Regions from separate parts of the Homo sapiens genome. Here all the other regions are linked to region 4. Evidence: promoter capture Hi-C in 16 types of primary human blood cells and fetal thymus (Javierre and others, 2016). All regions are on one chromosome and are shown on one strand. The core of a region is centred on a gene start or on the middle of the fragment in contact, and the rest is flanking DNA. Distances in the headings are between cores, read along the strand shown.

What was found. The method cuts DNA at HindIII sites, captures the fragments that hold promoters and counts their contacts. A CHiCAGO score of 5 or more calls a contact.
Region 1: a contact is called between a fragment that was not itself captured here and the fragment with the promoter of TMEM60 in region 4, in 1 of 17 cell types (neutrophils). The highest score is 5.7, in neutrophils.
Region 2: a fragment that was not itself captured here is called in contact with the fragment with the promoter of TMEM60 in region 4 in 5 of 17 cell types (neutrophils, erythroblasts, total CD4 T cells and 2 more); the score reaches 7.1 in neutrophils.
Region 3: a fragment that was not itself captured here is called in contact with the fragment with the promoter of TMEM60 in region 4 in 1 of 17 cell types (neutrophils); the score reaches 5.1 in neutrophils.
Region 5: a fragment that was not itself captured here is called in contact with the fragment with the promoter of TMEM60 in region 4 in 2 of 17 cell types (monocytes and neutrophils); the score reaches 7.4 in monocytes.

Annotation. Positions count from the first base shown.
Region 1 is chr7:77,444,437-77,447,136 of GRCh38, reverse strand. No RefSeq gene overlaps it. Among named protein-coding and RNA genes, the nearest start is that of GSAP, 29 kb to the right of the region's middle. The HindIII fragment of the contact is 4,122 bases long and covers 1-2,700 here.
Region 2 is chr7:77,512,031-77,514,730 of GRCh38, reverse strand. No RefSeq gene overlaps it. Among named protein-coding and RNA genes, the nearest start is that of PTPN12, 24 kb to the left of the region's middle. The HindIII fragment of the contact is 2,366 bases long and covers 244-2,609 here.
Region 3 is chr7:77,473,376-77,476,075 of GRCh38, reverse strand. No RefSeq gene overlaps it. Among named protein-coding and RNA genes, the nearest start is that of GSAP, 58 kb to the right of the region's middle. The HindIII fragment of the contact is 1,837 bases long and covers 455-2,291 here.
Region 4 is chr7:77,797,007-77,799,706 of GRCh38, reverse strand. It overlaps TMEM60 (transmembrane protein 60), which reads left to right and starts at 1,273. Exons shown (of 2, transcript NM_032936.4): 1 at 1,273-1,453. PHTF2 (putative homeodomain transcription factor 2) reads right to left here and starts at 934. Exons shown (of 19, transcript NM_001395272.1): 1 at 736-934. RefSeq lists a silencer at 854-993 and an enhancer at 1,404-1,513. The HindIII fragment of the contact is 8,213 bases long and covers 1-2,429 here.
Region 5 is chr7:77,491,482-77,494,181 of GRCh38, reverse strand. No RefSeq gene overlaps it. Among named protein-coding and RNA genes, the nearest start is that of PTPN12, 44 kb to the left of the region's middle. The HindIII fragment of the contact is 6,208 bases long and covers 1-2,700 here.

The sequences.
Region 1 (2,700 bases), core at 34-2,533, 350 kb after region 4:
GGAAGATAACCTAGATTGTTACATGATCCTATTTTGAATGCAAGAAGCTGAGTATTTCTTTTGTCTTTGTATTTCTTAAGATATGCTTATTTTCAGCCCTCTCCCCTGAAACGAATAGCATGAAATAACATGTCAAGGAACTTGTTCTCAGAGCAGTAAGAGAAGACCGTATTATTTTCAAAGTATTGGAGGCCAGGCGGTGGCTCATGCCTGTAATTCCAGCTTTTAGGGAGGCAGAAGTGGGAGGAGAGCTTAAGCCCAGGAGTTCGAGACCTGCCTGGGCAATATAGGGTTATCCCGTTCTCCACAAAAAGGAAAAAAAAGTATTGTATTACCCAGTTACACACATACTCACTTTTGCCAGGAGCCTACCTTCAAATTTGATGAGAACGATGAGAAGGACTGGCTGCTGCTCTTATATGCTCCACAGGAAGAAATGGTACTAGGCAACAAAAACAGAATAAAGTCAAGAATGCAGAATATCTATTTCTGGCTGTTTCTGTCCCAGCAACTTCAATGAAATGCAGAGTTTCCTCTGATTATAAAATAGAGATAATATTCTGAATGCAATGTCACATAAAAAGACATTTATTTTTACCCCTTCCTCTGTCTTGAATGGTAATTTATCTTCATTCTCAATGAATATTGGAATTTATATTGCCCAAATAGAAAAGATTGCAGTTTTCACTCATTTAGTGGTAGTATATTTTCTTGGGAGAGAGTTGCCTAGTAAGCAAAAAATGTGTGGGATGTTAAACTTTTTTTTTTTTTTCTGAGATGGAGTCTCACTGTGTCACCCAGGCTGGAGTGCAGTGGTGTTATCTCAGCTCACTGCAAGCTCTGCCTCCCGGGTTCATGCCATTCTCCTGCCTCAGCCTCCCAAGTAGCTGGGACTACAGGCACCCATCACCACGCCCAGCTAATTTTTTGTATTTTTAGTAGAGATGGGGTTTCGCATATTCGCCAGGATGGTCTCGATCTCCTGACCTCATGATCCGCCAGCCTCGGCCTCCCAAAGTGTTGGTATTACAGGCGTGAGCCACTGCGCCTGGCCGGGAAGTTAAGTTTTTATAATTATTTAAAAGAAATAACTTTAAGTATGCTACATTAACATGGTTGTAAATTGGAAGTTGTCATTTTTCCGAATGGGGAGCTTACAGAGAAAGAGACATGACTCTTGCTTCCATTTAATCCATTCTCCACGTCCGGCCTTTTGAAAGATGGTTTTAAGAGTGTAAATGGCATCACTCCCTCTTTTTGGGATCCCCATCGCATTTATTAGAACCTACAGTTTCCTTAACACGTTCTCCAAAGCTCTGTAGAGTCTGCTCCTGCCTTTTCCCCCAACATCATCTTGGGCTTCTCCCCTTTGCTCAGATTGGCTTTCTTTCAACTCTTTTTTTTTTTTTTTTTTTTTTTTGAGATGAAGTTTCGCTCTTGTTGCCCAGGCTGGAGTGCAATGGCGCGATCTCCGCTCAGTGCACCTCCACCTCCTGGGTTCAAGAGATTCTCGTGCCTCAGCCTCCCGAGTAGCTGGGATCACAGGCATGCGCTACCACGCCCAGCTAATTTTTGTATTTTTGGTAGAGACAGGGTTTCTCCATGTTGGTCAGGCTGGTCTTGGACTCCCGACCTCAGGTGATCCGCCCGCCTTGGCCTCCTAAAGTGCTGGGATTACAGGCATGAGCCACCGTGCCGGGCCTTTCAACTCTTGAAGGAACGACATGCTTTCCCAGTCCAAGGCTTTGGGAAACGTTCCTTTGTCAGGAACGTCTTTTCCCTTACCCTTCCTGAGGTTAATTCTCACTTACTCTTAATTTCTCAGCTAAATGTCTCCTCAGAAAAGCCTGCTATGATTTTAGGAGTCTCTCTTGTTGACCCTTTCCCTTCATTATCAGTTGTCATAATTTCTAATTATGTATTAATTTGGTGCTTATTTTTATCTAGATTAGATAATAAATCCTATAACATTAGAGATCATGTCCATTTTGTTTACTTCCCTGTACCTAGTGCCTAGCATAGTGCTTGACACATAGTAAATGCTCAACAAACATTTAATGATTAGATTACCAAATATCATACAGCAAAATGGACACTGGTTTGAAATATAAATGATAATCTATCCTGTAATTTTAACATTACAATTTATCGAATTAGAGTGTTCACAAATGAGTTGTATTCCAAAATTTGCAAACTGGTTATTTGACAGTCAGATTATATTTCTCCATAGAAAAAACTGTCATTGTTGGTTCAGGCCTGCACCTGCTAAATGTAACAATTTTTAGATCTTGTGCAAGCTCACCTCCATCCAAATATTGGCAACGTTAGACCTCAGTTTCCAGGTCAGGATTCCTAGTTTTCAGCCTCCACATAATTTTTGAGGCTTTTGTTTTTGTGAGTTTAAGATAGAAACCTTAGATAGTTTTGTGAGTTTAAGACAGAAATAGCGTTTTTGTGAGTTTAAGATAAAAAGGCGATTTTTAGTTTCTTCTCTTTCAATGTATTTTTGGTTATCGGACTTTTTGTATGAGGAGAGAGAAATACTGCTGTAAAGTTGTGCTCAGCGTAAGGGGTAGCCTTCAGTAGCTGGGAGAAGGGACAGCTTTCACTTGCAGTATGGAAGGAGATCTTTCAGCACACACTGAGATCTCAGCACACAGCAGGAGCTCCCAGTGTACAAATGTGTTTGTGTTTATGTGT
Region 2 (2,700 bases), core at 177-2,676, 290 kb after region 4:
AACTTACAAGCTTGTCTTCTTTCTACCATGTTGTAATGCCTCCCCTGAGACAGTGAACAAAAGGCTAGCTCTTTGAATTTTGTGAGATGTAGAAAGAAAGGGGAAAATGAAGGGAGAAAAAATGTGAATATCTCAAAATACCATCCTACCAGAATTATCAATATGTGATGAGTGCTTACTGTGTGCCAGATACTATACCAAATGCTTTACATATTTTTTCTCATTAAGTACTATTATCAAGCTTATTTTACAAACAAGATGATCAGATTTAGAGAGATTAAGTAAGTTGCCTGAAGTTTCACTGTTTCTAGATGGTAATGCTGAAATTCTACCAGGAATCTCTGACTCCCAGCTCCAACTTTTGACCATTAGCATGCAAGTTCTTTCCATGTGGTTGGGGAGGGAAGAAGGTTGGTCTAAGGGTGCTTTCCTTTGGCTTCATTTCTTCACATAAATGAGGATGCCAATCATACCTAAGACTTGTCTGTCATTAATACATTTCTGACAGTGGCTTCCACTTGGCAACACTTTGTAGGCGAGTGGACCTACTCTGTACACTTGAAATGTTGAAAACTGCACTTCTTCTAAAATACTGTTTGGATCAATCATTTCATTTAGTTAAGCAGGCCATCTGTCTATCCAGCATGTTTTCCAAGTGCCTGTGCGTAGGTACCACGTAAAATGCTGGGGACATCAAGATGAATTCAACACTCACCATGAGCTATGTGTGTGGTGTTTAGATGAAACAGACATAAAAGCTAATTACAGCAGTGAGATAAGTTGTATATCTAAACAGCATATGAATATGTGTTCTGGAATGCAGAAGAAAAGTACTAATTTCAGCTTAGGTATATCAAGGAAAACTTCTCAGAGGTAATAAGCCTTCAAGAATGAGTAGAAATTCACCAGTAGGACATTCTGGACAGAGGAAGAGGCATGGGCAAAAATGCTTGGCAATTTCAGAGAGGAGCACACAACTGAGAATAATTGGAGAGGATGATGTATGTTTATAGGAGCCAGATAATGAAGATACTTGTTCTACTATGCTAACAAGTTAAAATAATTAAAACTCTCACCCCACAGGAGGAATCTTGCCCACAAATATTCTTTGTTTGATGTAGGTTTTTTTTTCTTGAATTTGAATGTCTTTAAAAAGACGTACATTCTCTAGTCTTCTGTCTCCTCAGGCTCACCCCTCCATATTTAGGTTACCTAGCTATCCCTGCAGACATTTGAGCTTACTCCCCCTGCTGCAGCAATGGGGAGTCACGGAAGATTATCTTTGTTTATAGGAGCCAGATAATGAAGATACTTGTTCTACTATGCTAACAAGTTAAAATAATTAAAACTCTCACCCCACAGGAGGAATCTTGCCCACAAATATTCTTTGTTTGATGTAGGTTTTTTTTTCTTGAATTTGAATGTCTTTAAAAAGACGTACATTCTCTAGTCTTCTGTCTCCTCAGGCTCACCCCTCCATATTTAGGTTACCTAGCTATCCCTGCAGACATTTGAGCTTACTCCCCCTGCTGCAGCAATGGGGAGTCATGGAAGATTATCTTAAGGTGGAGTTAACATGAACGTATTTGCTCTTTCAGAGACCATTCTGGCTTACTGTGGAGGATAAATGGTGAGGCCAATTGGGAAGGGATGGTACAAGATATAGAAATGTCTTAGCTCGGGCTGCCTTAACCAAATGCCATAGCCTGGGTGGCTTAAACTCAGACATTTATTTTTCATTATTCTGGAAGCTGGAAAGTCCAAGATCAAGGCACAAGCAGATTCAATTCTTGGTGAGGGCTTTCTTCCTGGCTTGTAGATGGCCACCTTCTTACTGTATCCTTAAAGAGAGAAGGAGCTCTGGTTTCCCTTCCTCTTCTTATAAGGGCACTAATCCTATCATGGGGCCTCCACCCTCATGACTTCATCTAAACCTAATTACTTGCCAAAGGCCCCACCTCCTCATACCATCACAATGGGGGTTGGAGTTTCAGCATATGAATTTTGAGGGGAATACAAACATTCAAGCTATAAAAAGCGACTTACTGGGTGAAGAGGCTGAGAGGGAGGACTCATGATTCTCAGTTTCCCACTGAATGAACGGTGGTTCCATTAACTCCAAATGGATAGCACAAGAGGTTTTATTCTATATGTTTATATGAAGTTGTAAAATTTCTTAGGAAGGATTGTGGAGCAATTGCTAAAATCCACTTAATGTCTATTGGAAGTACCTAGATGAAGTTCACCAGGAGACCTTTCAAAAGTGTCTCAAATGTTCCTATAAATATTGTGACATATTTATGTCATAAATCAGGATACATGGTAGGACATGTTGGGCATTAATAACAGACATAATATTTAAAATGGGAACTGTTCTGAAAAATCAGGAGTGTATGGTCACTGGATATAAAAATTACTTTGTTGTCTCATCTAGGTTCTCTTTTATCAAAGGTCCCTCTGAATAAAAATACTATCGTTAGAATGTACATGTTTAAATAAACACGTCTCAAGTACAGCTAATCGATCTATGGGTATTTCCTCATTTTCATCTTCAATAATAATTTCAAACTCCCTACCATACTTTTCTACAGAGCTATTAATAGGAAGCTTCCATCAGCTAACTTGAGTTTCCTCTCATTTTCCCAGCTGACATTCACTGGAGGTATTAATGGGAAATATAATGTCTAAAAGACATAGGTA
Region 3 (2,700 bases), core at 124-2,623, 320 kb after region 4:
CATGTTGTTTTTGTCAATAATATTATAATAATAATTGAGATGATATCTCAATCCAGGATAATTCTTAAACATAGCTTCATGGTCACAGGAAATAATTTCAACATATATACTTTTATTGTGATAATTAAGATAATTGATAAAAAGACTTTTAGGAATAAAAATATCATACTAGGATACAATTTTTTGGTGGAAGCAGAATAGAAATATGAGTTCAAGGAGGAAAAGGAAAAATACAAAATTTCTGATTATTAAAGAACAGCTTGTTCATGTATTTTTTAAAAAGGGATGATGTGGTATTTAGATTATATTAGATATATTTTTAAAGTGCTATAATATTTTTATTTTAAAATGACAATATTTACAGAACATTGGAAGTTACATCCTTTGCAACTATTTTAACATGGGATGAAGAATTTTAGATGTCAGCTTAAAAATGTGCAAGAGGACACAAGCTTTACAAAATTCTTTTAGAAGTGTTTGCAAGTAAAAAGTTGGAAGATCATGTTTTAGGAAACCCAGTCCAGAGATTGGTGTGTAGAATGGACTAGAATGGGGAAGAATGGGGATAAATTGGGCAAGGTACCAGTTAGGAGACAATTGATTTTTTCCAGACTTAAGGAATTTCAACTGTATTAAGTTCATCAGCATGGAAATGAAGAGAAACAGACTAAAAGCAAACACTACTAGGAAAGAAGAATTATTAGTGTCCATCCCTGCTTCATTTCATTTTAGGTTTTAAATACCATCAAAACTGAGTTTCCTGTTTTCTGCCTGTAGACTCTGCCCTGACCTAATCTTGAACTTCTTTCCTTCCTTGCTTCCTTCTTTCCTTCTTCACCCCCACAACACTCCAACTATTCATCAGACATTCTGTGAACTACTGGGGCCCCTAAAATGGTAAACAATAGGTCCCTGGCTTCTGATAACTTTCATTCTAGTGGAGAAACTTATAGCTGACTAGATGCCTAGAGAGATATCATATATGGCCTATACAACTCTACCCCTCTTTCCTTTGTAGCGTGCTACAGGACAGAGAGTTGCAGCCTTCATTTCTCAGACTCTGTCAGATTCCATATGTGACCCAGCCTCTGCCAAACAAACGTATGAGTATGATATTTGGACAAGAGAAGTGGTACAAGGGTGACATTGTCAGAGTTGTTTGAACCAGAGTGACTCCATCTTGAAGAGAGGCTGGGTAAAATAAGGCTGAGACCTACAGGGCTGCATTCCCAGGAGGTTAGGCATTCTTTTTTTTTTTTTTTTTTTTTTGAAATGGAGTCTTGCTCTTGTCGCCAGGCTGAAGTGCTTTCTGATCAGTCCTCGGTTTTCTGAGGATGGCACAAGAAATAGCTACCTTGGTAGGCACTTCTGGCAATTATTCTTGGAAGCTCAGCCTGGAGCCTGTTTCCCCAGCCTTTCCAGTAATTTTGAAAGCTCCTAGTTCATTATATTAAATCTCTATAAGTTTAAAGTAGCTAAAGTGGTTTCTTTTATTGGCAACCAAATCCTGGCTGATACAGATGAAACCCTCAATGATTCCTTCTAGCGCCCTGCTTCCTGTATTGTTCCCTAAGTCTCTTTCTTGTCTAAGAGAGCTGGGATCCAACCAGCCAGTGATAACCCTGGAATGCCGCATCGTTACCTGAGTTGCTACTATTCCTCCCCTGTGTGCTTTAATGCTCAGAACTAGGCTCTGGCATGACTTGTTCTGATTGGTCCAACTTTTGGGGAACTAGAGTCTCTCCTGCCCTACCCTGGTGAAGGCTATTCACAAACAGATGTAAATGTGAGCTTAGAAGTACTGACCCCAGCTAGTCGTGGTGGCTCACACCTGTAATCCCAGCACTTAGGGAGGCTGAGGCGGGTGGGATCACCTAAGGTCAGGAGTTTGAGACCGGCCTGGCCAACATGATGAACCCTTGTCTCTACAAAAAATAAAAAATTAGCCGGGTGTGGTGACACGTGCCTGTAGTCCCAGCTACTTGGGAGGTTGAGGCAGAAGAATCACTTGAACCTGGGAGGCGAAGGTTGCAGTGAGCCGAGATCATGCCACTGCACTCCAGCCTGGGCGACAGAAAAAAAAAAAAAGAAGAAGGGCTGACCCCTTACCTACCAATTTTCTGCTTCTATGTTTCATCCACCTGCTTGGGACATGAGGGCTTCCCCTCGAATCTTTGTTGTGCCCTTTGGACAGGGTGCCTTACTGACCTTGCTGCTCCTCCACATGTGTCTCTCTATAACTGGGTCATTTCCTGTAGAGTACTGCTTCCCTTTAGTTGGCCTTAAAAGCTTCCTGGGAATCTAATTTAAAATGTCAGTTCCCCAACCCAATGCTGATTGAGTAGGTTTGAAGTGTGGTGGGAAGTCTGCATTTTTAACAAGAGCCACAAGGCATTCTGACCCACAAGGACCTTGGTCTACACCTTGACAACTCTCTGATGTCAGTGTCTAGCCCATGTTAGTGGGTAGAACAGACAGCAGGTCCTAATTCCTTCCCTCTTCTCTGTACTGTGAGAATGGGAAAAGAGAGAGGTTAAAGATAGCCGCTAGGTTGTAAACTCGCCTGACGGGGATTATGACTTTAGCACTAGCTCACACAGGGAAATTAAGAAGTGAAACCAATCTGTGGAGTAAGATAACGAGTTCCATTTGAGACACGTTGGATTTGATATCCAAGTGAAGTTGTTACATTGTTGGTAG
Region 4 (2,700 bases), core at 24-2,523:
AGTTACACAAGGAGGTGCTGAGTTAGAAAGCCATGACTCGAAGGACAATACCAGAATGCTGGCTGTCAACACTGGGCAGATAAAAATAAGAAAAGCTGAAGCATGCTGATGGAGCACGGTATTGTTTCCAGACGGGAACTATCCCTTAAGGCCCATGCCTTAAGCACCCACTCCGCCGTGTTGGGATCAGAAAACTCGACTGCCGCCTGCTCAGAGGGGGCAGGGCAGCGACCCTCCTTCCACCTCCTCCAGCGCGCGAGCCGCCGCCCCCTCCCGAGCCCGCTCCTCCGGCCGCTAGCTGACATCTCCCCGCCAGCCGGGCTAGCCACCCGAGACCCCTGAACGCCCTTCCAGGACCCGACGACCCCTCAGCACAGCGCCAAGGGAAGGAAGCAAAGGACAGGGGCCTGGAAGCGGGGCCCGAGGGGCGGGTGGCGCGCTGGGCTTCGGCCCGTCACCATCAAGACTTGAGGACCGCGCGAGCTCGGGAGGAAGGCGGCTGAGCCTCCGCCACCGGCCGACTGATGAGAAGGGGTCGCGGCTGACCCCGGCCCTCAGGTACGGGAGACTGCCGGGAAAGTCGCCGGCGACGGAGGGCGACGCGTTGGCCCCGGAGCCCCCACCTCCATCCCGACGACCGCTCTCCTCCCTCGTCCCGATCCATCCTCGAAATTCTGTCAGAACTCGACGACCTCCACACTGCCCACCCGAGCGCGGAGGTGATGCCGCTCTTACCGTAGGAGCGAGCGCCGCGCCGCTAGGAGGCGGCTGAGGTGCGCGCGGGAGACTCCGAAGCTAGCGCCGCCGCCAACAGAGCCCAAGGAGCCACAACGAGGCTGCCCGCGGGCGCGCTGCCTCCAGAGGGTTGCCCCACCCCCTCTCCCGCAGGATTTTGCGCCGGAGCCTGCAGTCACTGCGCGCGGGCAGGGAGGATGGGAGGAGGGGCGGGGCGTCCCGAGAGGGCGGAGCTGAGCGCCGGCTGCTCTGATTAACATCTGTGGGCCCAATGGGAGCACGGAAACTCCAGGCTGATCTTGGACTGACTTCCCTACTAACCCGTGACAGTAGAGAGGCGGGACCAATGGGTCTTTTTATTGCCGCCTTTCTGTCGAACCCGAAAGTAAGGAAAGGTCGGTTGGTTTGCACTGGCGGACAAATGGTCCAATTACCGCGGAAAAGGGACCTCTGAATCCAGATTGGCGTCCTCTCTACCTATAGGGTAGGCTCAGGGGCGGTGAGAACCAGCCCCGGATGTGGGCGCGGCACTGAGGTAGAACTGAGAGATCCTCTACCGCAGTCGTTTGAGGAGGCGGAACTGAAGTTTTTTCTTAATTATCATGTGACGGGTTCTGGATTTAATGGGGGGAAAAGGGCGGAAAAGGACAAGGATCCAAACTGGCGAATTTGCTGATCTTCGCGTCCCTCTCCGCTTTCCGGCCGGCAGCGCTGCCAGGTGAGTCTGGGGCTCTGCCCTAGCCCGCACCGTACGCCGGCGCTGGTCTCCTGATGCTTCCGTGGGCTGTGCGGCCGACCCTCAACCCATCACACAGCCAGCCCCAAACGCGCACACGCCTGCTTGGCTCCAGGGCTTCTGTGCGCATCCAGCAGGAACCGTGTTAAACTCCAGCATGTGCTGGGCTTACAGCCCATGAAAGGGGAGCGTCCCGGTGGGGCGCCGCGAGCCGACTGTCGGTGTTTGCAGAAGGGCAAGTATAGTTTAGGAGCGTCCTGAAGTTCCAGGGGCAAATAGGCCCCCAGATGAGCTAAGTTGTAAGCAGAACGCTGTTCCTTTGGCCAAGGCTGTTGCTGCACGGGCTTTTCAAAAGCGACTCATTATGAAGAAGAATAAATATGTGGGCTCATGAAGCAAAATTATCTTTGGGATGAGGCAGGTTCACTTGGTAGACTACTGGCAGTGGCGAGAGAAGGGAAATGGGGGCTGATACCCAGCCGTGGGCTATGTGGGTGGGGCTCTATATATGTCCATACAGGGGTAACTCCGAAGGTTTTAAAAATGAGTAAGGAATCATTAACAAATATTTAACTGTCTTCCTAGTGCCAGAAATAACCACCTTAAATGGGAAACATTTTAGTTGAGCACATTTTTGGAGTACGCACCTCCCCCTTTCTTGTGGAGAGAATAGTAGGAAACATAACGACTGCTCAAATTGATGAAGACGTAAATGTAAAACTGGGATCGTATGTCATCGTTGTAGCTCAGCATACAGGCGTACAATCCTTCAATCGTCATTTAAGTATCAGCAGTGCTTCCCCATTGAGGGTATTTCCGTGCAAGAACATAACAGAATTTTGTTGCATCCCACATTATAAATCTTGTAGGCACAATAAGATTGTTACTTGCATCCTTTCACCTCCAGCCCTAAAGCACCTGTGGTAAGTACAGCCAAATGTAAGAAAAAAATGAAGCTTGTCTTATCCGATAGCAGATGGAACAGTTAGGTTTAAGCAAGTGTATAATCATAAACCGTTTTTCAGAGGTTCACAAAAACGGCCTGATAGATTGGAGGTGGGGATTGTGCAATTTACGGGATGAAATCCATCCATGGTTATTAATCAACACACACCCCTCCAACCCTGCTTCCAAATTCAGTCCCACATCCCACTCTATGGCAGCCTCTGGCCGGGAAAGGAAACCAACACAGAAAAATGCCTCCTTAGAAGCAAAATTACTGCAGTATG
Region 5 (2,700 bases), core at 59-2,558, 310 kb after region 4:
CTCTGCACTCGTAGGGTCAACACCACATGGAAGCTGCCAAGGCTTGGGGCTTGCACCCTCTGAAGCCATGACCTGAGCTCTACATTGCTCCCTTTCTGCCACGGCTGGAGCAGCTGGGACACAGGGCACAAAGTCCCTAGGCTGCACACAGCATGGGGACCCTGGGCCCAGCCTATGAAACCACTTTTTCCTCCTAGATCTCCAGGCCTGTGATGGGAGGGGCTGCCACGAAGACGTCTGACATGCCCCGGAGACATTTTCCCCATTGTCTTGGGGAATAACATTCAGCTCCTTGTTACTTATGCAAATTTCTGCAGCTGGCTTGAATTTCTCCTCAGAAAATAGGATTTTCTTTTCTTTCATATTGTCAGGCTGCAAATTTTCTCAACGTTTATGCTCTGCTTCCCTTATAAAACTAAATGCCTTTAACAGCACTCAAGTCACCTCTTGAATGCTTTGCTGCTTTGAAATTTCTTCTGCCACATACCCTAAATCATCTCTCTTGAGTTCAAAGTTCCACAAATCTCTAGGGCAGGGGCAAAATGCTGCCAGTCTCTTTGCCAAAACATAACAAAAGTCACCTTTGCTCCAGTACCCAACAAATTCTTCACCTCCATCTGAGACCACCTCAGTCTGGATTTTATTGTCCATGTCATTATCAGCATTTTGGTCAAAGCCATTCAACAAGTCTCTAGGGAGTTCAAAACTTTCCCACATTTTCCTGTCTTCTTCTGAGCCCTCCAAACTTTTCCAACCTCTGCCTATTACCCAGTTCCAAAGTTGCTTCCACATTTTCAGGTATCTTTTCAGCAGCACCCCAGTCTACTGGTACCAACTTACCTTATTAGTCCATTTTCATGCTGCTGATAAAGATATACCCGAGACTGGGCAATTTACAAAAGAAAGAGGCTTATTGGACTTAGAGTTCCAGATGGCTGGGGATGCCTCACAATCATGGTGGAAGGCAAGGAGGAGCAAGTCACATCTTAAGTGGATGGCAGCAGGCAAAGAGAAAACTTGTGCAGGCAAAGTCCCATTTTTAAAGCCATCAGATCTTGTGAGACTTATTCACTATCACGAGAACAGCATGGGAAAGACCTGCCCCCATGATTCAATTACTTCCCACCGGGTTCCTCCTGCAACACATTGGAATTGTGGGAGTTACAATACAAGATGAGATTTGGGTGGGGGCACAGTCAAACCATATCAGCTGCCATATGTATTATGACAACTGTGGTAAATTTTATGGAGAAAATTAAAACATGGTAGTGAAAATGAGAATTTTGTGGGATAGCTTAGGTTACCATTTCAGTAGAATGACTCTTCCTGCAGAGATTCTAATAGACAGCTTGAGCGTTCCATGAAGTCTCTTCTTTAATTTGTCTCTTTGTTTTAGCACTTTAAAACATTATTATTTTGTTTTGAAAACATAAATTACTTTGGGGCAGGTTTTTTTTTTTTTTTACTATTTATTCAGATATCTATTGAGAAAGATTTTTTGTGAAGTGTAGTACTCACTTGTATGTTTTCTAAATTATTATTTAAAATTATTTCTGTAACTAGCAAGCTGTATTTGGAGTGAATGCATGTTTGACTAGTATCCATCCATGCTTGTCAGATAGAAGGAACTGCACAGCATTCATTGTAAGATGCAACAGGAATAAACGCAGTTTGTAAAGTTATAGGGATGAATTATAGTCGCATTTTCCCTAACTGCTCATCTCAAAATTAGTCACACAGGTTATTCCCTTAAACACACATCCTAACTCCAAAATAATTGGTCACAATAATTGGTCACAAAATGATCTTTCCTTTTTTTTTTTGAATGCTTGTTCATAATGAGATCTTCAAAGGGAAATACCATGTTCATCTTTATTGTCATTGTTTTCATATTATAGTTGTTCAGTAAATATTTGTTGTCTAAATTAAAAAAAGAAAACTATATGAGTCTAGTTTGGGAAGAACATTTTATATTGTTAATAATACAAACAATTAAAATAATGATAGGCAAGGGATTTAAAATATCCAGAAAAAGGCCGGGCACGGTGGCTCACGCCTGTATTCCCAGCACTTCGAGAGGCCGAGGAAGGCTGATCACAAGGTCAGGAGATCAAGACCATCCTGGCCAACATGGTGTAACCCCATCTCTACTAAAAATACAAAAATTAGCTGGGTCTGGTGGTGTGTGCCTGTAATCCCAGCTACTTGGGAGGCTGAGGCAGGAGAATTACTTAAACCAGGGGGTCGGAGGTTGCAGTGAGCTGAGATCGCGCCACTGCACTCCAGCCTGGTGACAGAGCGAGACTCCATCCCCCCAAAAAAATTCAGAAAAAGTTTCAGACTCTCATAAAATGTATCTGGCTATTTAAACCAGCCATTTGTATTTCTGATAAAAGCAGGTGCTTCTGGTCAAGTTCATATGTATTTATTTTGAACATTGGCTTTGGGAACCCAGACAGCTAACTCTATAGTCCATAGTTTTATACATGCCAGGTAGTGCATGTGGATCTAACTCCATAGTCCATAGTTTTGTACATGCCAGGTAGTTTTGATCATAATGGGTAATAAAAGATGAAAAATAAAATGTTGAAATGCAAGACCTATATTTAACCCCAAAGCATAAACCTAACAATTTTCTCAACTCCTGTCCCTTGTTTTTGTGGTAAATTTTGTGTGATGTTACTTTGAAATAGACGAGGA